Linked DNA regions of Homo sapiens: region 1 is linked to region 2. Evidence: promoter capture Hi-C in human tissues and cell types (Jung and others, 2019). All regions are on one chromosome and are shown on one strand. Each heading gives the region's core, a stretch centred on a gene start or on the middle of the fragment in contact. The rest is flanking DNA. Distances are from core to core; before and after follow the strand shown.

The links. Contacts are between HindIII fragments. The study calls those that stand out against the background at their distance.
Region 1: a contact is called between a fragment that was not itself captured here and the fragment with the promoter of ZNF223 in region 2, in 1 of the 25 tissues and cell types used here (neural progenitor cells).

The regions. Positions count from the first base shown.
Region 1 is chr19:44,103,846-44,108,906 of GRCh38, forward strand. ZNF224 (zinc finger protein 224) reads left to right here. Exons shown (of 6, transcript NM_001321645.3): 6 at 2,551-5,061. The coding sequence ends at 4,439. ZNF225-AS1 (ZNF225 and ZNF224 antisense RNA 1) reads right to left here. Exons shown (of 2, transcript NR_033341.1): 2 at 1,494-4,492. Among named protein-coding and RNA genes, the nearest start is that of ZNF225-AS1, 6.8 kb to the right of the region's middle. The HindIII fragment of the contact is 4,133 bases long and covers 1,503-5,061 here.
Region 2 is chr19:44,049,476-44,055,137 of GRCh38, forward strand. It overlaps ZNF223 (zinc finger protein 223), which reads left to right and starts at 2,561. Exons shown (of 5, transcript NM_013361.6): 1 at 2,561-2,720; 2 at 5,634-5,662. RefSeq lists enhancers at 2,227-2,728, 2,548-2,787 and a silencer at 2,448-2,507. The HindIII fragment of the contact is 19,838 bases long and covers 1-5,662 here.

The DNA of each region.
Region 1 (5,061 bases), core at 2,319-4,818, 55 kb after region 2:
ACACCTGGCTAATTTTTGTATTTTTAGTAGAGACAGGGTTTCACCATGTTAATCAGGCTGGTCACCAACTCCTGGGCTCAAGCAATCTGCCCGCCTTGGCCTCTCAAAGTGCTGAGATTACAGACATGAGCCACTGTGCCTAGCCTCTGGTCTTTTTTATTTTAATGAGAGTCTAATATCCCCACATGGAACCAACCCAGGGCATGACCCCTCAGGCATTCTTTTTATCCCAAGTGTTCTCACCACCTTTCATTGTCTCATCAGGAGCATCACCCTTTCTTTACCCCTGTCAGGTCCAACCTTTCAGATTCCCATCAAAACTGGTTGTCTGTTTCTTACCTATCTCAGTTAACCAAATTATTGTTCACATCTACAGAAAAATAAAATTAAAGATACATGTTATGCCAAATTCTTGTGTAGGAATATTATGAATATGTAGATATAAACACTCCTAGGCCTTTGATATTATTGTGAAGAGTTTAACTGGCTGCACAGTTTAGAGCAAGAGTTTACAGAAGATCGCTCTCACTTCACACCAACTGCAAGTGTGGGGATTTCCCAAAACTACCTTCACATTCAGTAATTACCTAGAAAGATAAGCAGAACTCACTGAATGCTTTTATACTAAAAGTTACGGATATTTACAGGGTAGAGATGCACATTACATTTCACCAAGAGAAAAATAAGAAACAGTTCTGGGAAGTACCAAATGAGGATCTTGTATTGTATTCTCCCCATAGAGTAGGATGCGTTAAATTCCCAGAATTAAGGTGTGACGTAGAGGGTACAGCGAATCAGGGAAGCTCACCTGAGCCCTGTATTTTTTTTTTTTTTGAGACGGAGTCTCGCTCTGTCACCCAGGCTGGAGTGCAGTGGCGCAATCTCAGCTCACTGCAAGCTCCAACTCCTGGGTTCTTGCCATTCTCCTGCCTCAGCCTCCCGAGTAGCTGGGACTACAGGCGCCCGCCACCATGTCTGGCTAATTTTTTTGTATTTTTAGTAGAGATGGTGTTTCACCATGTTAGCCAGGATGGTCTCGATCTCCTGACCTCGTGATCTGCCCGCTTCGGCCTCCCGAAGTGCTGGGATTACAGGCGTGAGCCACCGCGCCCAGCCGAGCCCTGGTTTTACAAGTAATTTTTGAGGCTCCATTACATAGCCATTATTTGTTGATTGATTCCCATGTGGCTAGTCAGTCTCCTGGGCCACTGATTCCATGTAACCTAAAGCCTCACCTTAAATCACGTTGCTCTTTGTGACATAGGGGGCACCGACCCCCAAAGGCGTGGCCAGCTACAACCCTAAATCATATTGTTTCACTTTCCAGTGACCTAGTTTTACTCTCAAGCAAACAAAGACACTCTCCTCAGGCATAAACTCCTAGACATTACCTCTCAGATCCTGAGGAAAACATCTAGACCTCATTTTGAGTAAGGTTAATATCTTTACTTTGTAAGGATACACAATATAAACACAAATGTACCAAGTCTTGATTATATTACTTTTGTTTAAAATTGGTTTTGATTCATATTTTATTATATACACAATTTATTAGCTTCATAATTTACCATGCAAGATTTTAGACTGATTAGGAAATTCACTAGGAAGAGTAGCAGGTATAATGTTTGTATCATATTAATTTTATTATTGTCTTTTATTTTTATTAAAAATTTTATTTCAGTAGTCTTTTTTTATTAAAGTATATACTGGTTTTTGGTTACATGGTTGAATTGTCTAATGGTGAAGTCTGAGATTTTAGTGTACCCATCACCTGAGTAGTGTACATTGTACCCAACTTGTAGCTTTTTATCCCTTACCCTACCTTCCACCCTCCCCATTTTGAGTCTCCATAGTCCATTATATCACTCTGTATGCCTTTGCATACCCATAGCTTAACTCCCACTTATAAGTGAAAACACGGTATTTGGTTTTCCATTCCTGAGTTACTTCACTTAGAATAATAGCCTCCAGCTCCATCCAAGTTGCTGCAAAAGACATTATTTCATTTTTTTATGGCTGAATAGTATTCCCTGGTGAATATATACCATATTTTCTTTATCCACTCATTGGTTGATGGGCACTTAGGTTGGTTCCATATCTTTGAAATTGTGAATTGTGCTGTAATAAATATAGGCATGCAGGTGTCCTTTTGATGTAAGGACTTCTTTTCCTTTGGGTAGATAGTAGTGGGATTGCTGGATCAAATGGTAGATCCACTTTTAGTTCTTTAGAGAATCTCCATACTGTATTTCATAGAGGTTGTACTAATTTACATTCACACCAGCAGCAGTGTATAAGCGTTTCTTCTCACCACACCCATGTCAACATCTATTGTTTTTCGTCTTTTATTTCTATCAAGTATTTTACATATGATACTTGGTTTAGTTCGAAATTGGCCTCATCCAAACCAAAGATTATGGTGCACTTGAAAAATACAAACTGAATGTTGTCTATACTCATGAGAGTTTCCTGCCATGGCCTAAGTGAAATCTTGATAACACTGAACAAAGGCTTCACTTGTCCTCATCTTTTAATTCTGTATTCTGATAGGAGACAAGATCCAAACTGAGATGGAGACTGTTTCAGAAGCAGGAACACATCAAGAGTGGTCCTTCCAGCAAATCTGGGAAAAAATTGCAAGTGATTTAACCAGGTCTCAAGACTTGATGATAAATAGCTCTCAGTTCTCCAAAGAAGGTGATTTCCCCTGCCAGACTGAGGCAGGACTATCTGTAATTCACACAAGACAGAAATCTTCCCAGGGCAATGGATATAAACCATCCTTCAGTGATGTCTCCCACTTTGATTTTCATCAACAATTACACTCAGGAGAGAAATCTCATACGTGTGATGAGTGTGGAAAGAACTTTTGTTACATCTCAGCCCTTCGTATTCATCAGAGAGTCCACATGGGAGAGAAATGCTATAAGTGTGACGTGTGTGGTAAGGAATTCAGTCAGAGTTCACATCTGCAAACTCATCAGAGAGTCCACACTGGAGAGAAACCGTTCAAATGTGTGGAATGTGGGAAAGGCTTCAGTCGTAGATCAGCACTTAATGTTCATCATAAATTACACACAGGAGAGAAACCTTATAATTGTGAGGAATGCGGGAAGGCCTTCATTCACGATTCCCAGCTTCAAGAACATCAGAGAATCCATACGGGGGAGAAGCCATTCAAATGTGATATATGTGGTAAGAGCTTCTGTGGTAGATCAAGACTTAATAGGCATTCCATGGTTCACACGGCAGAGAAACCATTCCGATGTGATACGTGTGATAAGAGCTTTCGTCAGAGATCAGCACTTAATAGTCATCGCATGATCCACACAGGAGAGAAACCATACAAATGTGAGGAGTGTGGAAAAGGCTTTATTTGTAGGCGAGATCTTTATACGCATCATATGGTCCACACGGGAGAAAAGCCATATAATTGTAAAGAGTGTGGGAAGAGCTTCAGATGGGCCTCGTGTCTTTTGAAACATCAGCGAGTCCACAGTGGAGAAAAACCATTCAAATGTGAAGAATGTGGGAAAGGATTTTACACAAATTCACAATGCTATTCCCACCAGAGATCCCATAGTGGAGAAAAACCATACAAATGTGTGGAGTGTGGGAAGGGCTACAAAAGGAGGTTGGATCTTGACTTTCACCAGCGCGTCCATACAGGAGAGAAACTGTATAATTGTAAGGAATGTGGGAAGAGCTTTAGTCGGGCCCCATGTCTTTTGAAACATGAGAGACTCCACAGTGGAGAAAAACCATTCCAATGTGAAGAGTGTGGGAAGAGATTTACTCAAAATTCACATCTTCATTCCCATCAGAGAGTTCACACTGGAGAAAAGCCATACAAATGTGAGAAGTGTGGAAAGGGCTACAATAGTAAGTTTAATCTTGATATGCACCAGAAGGTCCACACAGGAGAGAGACCATACAATTGTAAGGAATGTGGGAAGAGTTTTGGCTGGGCCTCGTGTCTTTTGAAACATCAGAGACTGCACAGTGGAGAAAAACCATTCAAATGTGAAGAGTGTGGGAAAAGATTTACTCAGAATTCACAGCTTCATTCTCATCAAAGAGTGCACACTGGAGAAAAGCCATACAAATGTGATGAGTGTGGGAAGGGCTTCAGCTGGTCCTCAACTCGTCTGACCCATCAGAGACGCCACAGCAGAGAAACACCTCTCAAATGTGAGCAGCATGGGAAGAACATTGTACAGAATTCATTCTCTAAAGTGCAAGAAAAAGTTCACAGTGTAGAAAAGCCATACAAATGTGAGGACTGTGGGAAGGGCTACAACAGGCGCTTGAATCTTGATATGCATCAGAGGGTCCACATGGGAGAGAAAACATGGAAGTGTAGGGAGTGTGATATGTGCTTTAGTCAGGCCTCAAGCCTTCGACTTCATCAGAATGTTCATGTTGGAGAAAAACCTTAGTGATGTGATGGTGCAATAAAGTCTTCACTCAGTCTTCATGAATGCAGTCTCATCTGAAAGTTCACAAAGGAGAGACACATTAAAATATGAGGCACATAGTAAGCACTTCCCTTTGAGTATTTTATCTCTGAATCCATGCTGGTGATAAATTTCACCCATTCTTGGAAGAGGGAAAACATTTGTTTAAGATAACATCAGTGCTTCAGCCATAGCTCAGCATGCCCCAGTAGTCTCAGGACCACCATAATGGAGAATCCTTGTAAATGGTGCAATAAAGCTTCATTCAGAAGTTTGATAATTACAGCTATCATTCAGGAGACAGGCCTTAGAAAGAGTAAGAGTTCATGAATTTACCAGACTAATGGTGGACATGTCCAAATTGATGTCCACTAGAATGTAAACTACATGTGTCTTTGCTGCTAAGTCGTCACAGCCTTAACATTGATTAGCACTTTGTATGTGTTCAGTACTTGTTTGTTAAATCAATGAAAGGATAAAACATATGTATGGATTTGGATACAATTTTGTGTATCCAAAAAGGGAAGCCTGCAAAAAATAATTCTGGGAAACATGAGTTGAAATGCAGAGTAAACTCAGTACTGCAATCCATAGCAATATTTTG
Region 2 (5,662 bases), core at 1,311-3,810:
TAGGAATAGCCATCACTCAATTTTCAAGGGGGCATTGAAAATTTGTTTGGCACTATGTGGTTGCTCAGTCACCTTAATTTTTGTCCAAACCAAACTGTGAAACGTCAGCCAGGTGCAGTGGCTCACACCTGTAATCCCAGCACTTTGGGAGGCCAAGGTGGGCAGATCACGAGGTCAGGAGATTGAGACCATCCTGGCTAACACAGTGAAACCCCCATCTCTACTAAAAATACAAAAAATTAGCCAGGCGTAGTGGCACATGCCTGTAGTCCCAGCTACTTGGGAGGCTGAGGCAGGAGAATCACTTGAACCCAGGAAGCAGAGGTTGCAGTGAGCCGAGATCGCGCACTGCACTCTGGCCTGGGCAAAACAGCAAGACTCTGTATCAAAAAAAAATTGTGAACAGTCTTTTTTTAATTTTTTTTTATTTTTTTTTACTTTAGGAAAATGGATACAGGACATTAGACTCTTTTTAAAAAGAAAAATATAGGTCGACAGGTCAATGTATGTTTATTTGGGAGGACAAAAAATATGGTTTATCTTCAAAAGAGAATTTTAGATGAATTGTTTCCTGATTTAGCTTTATACTATTATTAATGTCTTTCAACTAACATATGCCAGTTTTCAAATTGTTTCCTATAATGAAGATATTTTAACCAAGAAATGGAAAGGAAGAAACTCTTAATAATAAATCATGCTCCGTCACCTATAGAATCTTCTCCAGTTTTATGGCATTGAATCAGACATTGGGTGTCAGATTGATACCAATGCCAAGCTCTTCAACAGTTATACTTGCTTTAAGATACTTAGCAATTCACTAACTTCTCTGAAATTTAGCGTTTCTACATCTAAAGTAGAAATATTACTACCATGAGAATGTTAAATGTAGCTTTTCCATGAGGACACAGCTTCTCCATTGGTGGCTGGAATTTTGTTTTTCCTGTCAAACCAGTGGTACCACAGCATCTGGACTAGGGCTGTAACTGAGAACCACCATTTTTCTAAGAGACAGCTTATTTATTTCTCTCTCTTTTCTCATTCCCTTAGTTCCCCACTTCCTATGTAGCCCTTTAAAAATGCAAATATAGACTTTTACCTCCCCTTCACCAGACACTTCCTACAGGGAAAGTTCATCTAACTGTGTGCTCCAAGCCAGAACTCTCCTCCAGAATTAACAGTCAATTTACAAACTAAAGCATGCTGGCCTCTGAACTCTCACTCACCAGGAGGTTGCCTGAAGAGACAACAGTTGAAAGCGTGCCTGCTACTCTCTCCCTTCTGGTTACAACTTATTTCTGCCCATGAAAAAGCCAGCTCAACTGCCTAATAGATAAGGCACCAAGCCAGCACACAGACCCCTTCCCTCTTCCTCCCCTACCTTTTAAAAGTGCCTGCTTTCTGCTCTAAAAGCCAAGCCGTGCACTTAAAGACAACACCTGTGCTACTTCCCCTACGCTAGCTCTAGAATAAATCACTTTCTTTATACCAGATCTCCCTCTTGTTAACTGGACGTTGCAAACGGGAAGCCACTGATCTACTTTTCAGTTACAGGGGCTGATGCTTTCCTGGCTTCTCATTGCCCCTCCCAACCCATTCTACCTGGCTCATTCTTTAAACCAGTGGTCCCCAACCGTTTTAGCACCATGGACCGGTTTTGTGGAAGACAATTTTTCCACGGACTGGGGAATGGTTTCGGGATGAAACTGTTCCACCTCAGCCATTAGATTCTCATAAGGAGCGCCTGACCTAGATCCTTCGCACGCACAGTTCACAATAGGATCCGCGCTCCTATGAGAATGTAATGCTGGGCTGATCTCACAGGAGGTGGAGCTCAGGCCATAATGCTCCCTCACCTGCCGCTCACTTCCTGCTGTGCCGCCCGGTTCCTAACAGTCAGTGGACCGGTACAGGTCTGTGGCCCTGGAGTTGGATATCCTTGCTTTAAACCCTGAGCCTCCTTTCAGCCATCTGACGGCTCAACAGTCACTCTATCTAGCTCCTTGAATATTGTATCTCCTCGCTTGTTCCCTGTCCAAGAACACTCCTGTCAATCATGGGAGACATTTAGACTTCATAAATTCTTTCTATTCAATATTTTCGCTCGAGGACTCTGGGAAGGACAACTGTCAGGGTAACAGTCTGCATTCCCCACCAGGAACCTGGGGCTATGAAATTCGTTCCCCGTGGGTGTTGCGGGAAGTGTAATCGAGGAGCACCATGTAGTCGCAACACTTGAGCCTAAAGGGTGAGGTGATGGACATTTTCCTTTTGCATCTGAGGCTCTGCAGTCCAGACACCTTGCGGGATTCCTGATACTTCAGCTCAGGTAGGCGTTTCCGGAGAATTCTGGGAAGAGTAGTCCATTTTACGGGAAGTGTAGTCCACTGGCTCGTGGAACACTGGGTATTTTGGCTCTGGCAGGTGAACCGTTGAATTCTGGGAACGATAGTCCAGACACTCTGCGGAGTCCCGGGCCCTTTGGCTCAGGGGGGCGGGTCCGGGGAATTCTGGGGAGTGGAGTCCAGACACTCTGGCGCAGAGAGGACACTTCCGGTCTCCTAGTCTGAGGTTCCTGCTTTAATGACCGGGGTAGTTTGAGCCATTTCTGCGTCTTGCAGGACATTTTGAACGAACCCCCTTTGCTTGAGGCTCGCAACCACCCGATGATCGATGATCGTCTCAGGGGAAAAGAAGCCTTGGCGAAGAGCAGAGGTTTAGAGGTGCGAGGGCGGGGAGGGTGTTTATTGTTCCCGTCAGCGGAGCCTTCTGGCGTCGGGGGGCTTTGCTCGCCTCCCGGGGGGTGGGATTGGGGTGGCCTTGTGTGCCCTGCTCTGAGGGTTTCCAGGACTTTGACCTCGCTCAGTCCGCCTCCCTACGTATGCAGTGTGTACACTCTTTCTCGCAGTGTGATGTGGAATGTTAATGTCTCTGTACTTCCCATTGCTGTTCTTTAAAATGGTGCTTATAGGGTCATCCTAATAGAATTGTTTTGCGAATTGAAAGAGATAATACAAATGAAAGCCTTAAAGTTGTCCCTGTCACTTGGTGAGTGGTCTCTTGTTGCCTGATATTTTAAAACGTTTGATATCATTTCAAAGCTATAGAAAAATTGCAAAAACAGTATAAGAAATTCTCATATACCCTTTACCCAAATTTGCCAAGTGTTTACATTTTTCCTGTTTGCTTTGTTGATGACCATCAACCAAATACCACCAGGAACATACCTGTAACCAGAGACAGCTGATTGGTAGCTTTCTGCAGCAAGGAAGCCCACATACCACGGTAATTGTGGGGTGTCTTGGTAAGAGGCATTTAGGAAGGGCTGGTTATAGGGTTTCACATAACATGGTAGATAATATTGGATATTATGTTAAATAATACTGTTACCGATTACATGTCAGATAGATGTGTTAAAAGAATACTAGTATTTGTAGTGTACTTACTAGATAGTGTTGGATAGCATATTACCTAGCATCATGTTATCTAATCTGCAGTTCCATATACGAATTTGTTAAATTTTTCATTTAAAGTCCTTATGACTGTCCTCTGCCCCACCCTTCACCTATTCAAAGTCCAGTTTATGCGTTGTCTTTAGCTGTCACATTTCCATAGTTGTTCATTTGGAGTTTGATATTGAAGGGGGCCTGCCTCTCCACACCTGTGGGTGTTTCTCACAAGGTGGAAATGAGAAACTGAGAAAAGAAATAAGACACAGACACAAAGTATAGAGGAAGAAAAGTGGGCCCAGGGGACCGGCGCTCAGCAAATGAGGACCTGTACCGGCACTGGTCTCTGAGTTCCCTCAGTATTTATTGATCACTATCTCTACTATCTTGGTGAGGGGGATGTGGAAGGACTATAGGGTAATGGTGGGGAGAGGGTCAGCCGGAAAACATGTGAGCAAAGGACTCTGTCATAAATAAGTTTAAGGAAAGGAGTTGTGCCTGGATGTGCACATAGGCCAGATTTATGTGTGACTTTACACAAACATCTCAGTGCAGTAAAGACCAGTATTGCCGCCAGTATGTCTCACCTCCAGCCATAAGGCGGTTTTCTCCTATCTCAGTAAATAGAATGTACGATTGGGTTTTATACCGAGACATTCCATTCCCAGGGATGAGCAGGAGACAGATGCCTTCCTCTTACCTCAACTGCAAAGAGGCCTTCCTCTTTCACTAATCCTCCTCAGCACAGACCCCTTATGGGTGTCGGGCTGGGGGACGGTCAGGTCTTTCCCTTCCCACGAGGCCATCTCTCAGGCTGTCTCAGTGGGTGGAAACCTTGGACAATGCCCAGGCTTTCTTGGGCAGAGGTCCCTGTGGCCTTCCGCAGTGTATGGTGTCCCTGGTTAATCGAGACTGGAGAATGGCAATGACTTTTACCAAGCATACTGCCTGCAAACACATTTTTACCAAAGCACATCCTGCACAGCCCTAAATCCATTAAACCTTGAGTCAATACAACACATGTTTCTGCGAGCACAGGGTTGGGGCTAGGGTTACAGATTAACAGCATCTCAAGGCAGAAGAATTTTTCTTAGTACAGATCAAAATGGAGTTTCTCATGTCTTCCTTTTTCTACGTAGACACAGTAACAGCCTGATCTCTTTTTCTTTCCCCTACAGATATATTTCACATTTAGGTTTAGATTATACATTGTTGGTGGGGATTCCACAGGAGTGTTAAGATGCCCTTTTCTTTTTTTTTTTTTTTGTTTGAGACAGTTTTGCTCTTGTCACCCAGGCTGGGGTACAATGGTGCAATAGGATGCCCTTTTCATTGTAACATAACAAGGTCCAAGTGATGTTCGTTTGTCCCTTCATTGGTGATCTCAGCTTTGTCACTGGCCAAGAAGATGTCTTTCAGATTTTTCCACTCTTATGTTACTTTTTTTTAAATTATGAAGTTTCTTATGGGAAAATACATTATTAGTGGGCATTTTCTTGTAAAAAAGAGCTTCCATTTCTCCTCTATTGGTTCATTGATTTGTTCAACTATAAATATTCTATCAATGTGGACTCAGAATCCAGTCTTATTGATTCTAATGATATGTGCATTAACAGTTTTTTTTTTAAACTCTAGGTTTATTTTAGTTATAGCATTCACCCATTTCAGGTATACAAGTCAGTTCAGTGGTCTTTAGGAACTTTGAAGTGGGGTAATCATCATCATAATTCAGCCGAGATCACTTTCATCCCCCAGTTGGACTCCTCATGCCCATTTACTTTGAACCTCATTCTCAACTCAAATTTAGAACAACTGCTAACCTACTTTCTATTCTATTCTACTTGTCTATTCCAGACATTTCATATAAATGGAATCGTAGGGTCTGTGGGTTTTTGTGACTTGCTTCTTTCATTTACTGTAATGTTTTCAAGGTTCACGGGTGTTGTTGCATGGGTCAGTATTTCATTCCTTTACATTTCCAAATAAGATTCCATTGTATGAATATGCCACAATTTTTCTGTCCCTTTACCTGTAGGAGAGCTTTTTGGTTGTGTGCAATTTGGGGTTAGTATGAATAATGCTGCTGTGAGCGTTCATGTGCTAATTGACAATATGAGTCCTTGTTGGTGGGTGACATCCCTGGCCACCCTTTCATGTCTCTTTTTCTGTCTTCATGGCACTTTCCAGGCACAATTCTGCTTTCCCTGGAACTGTGT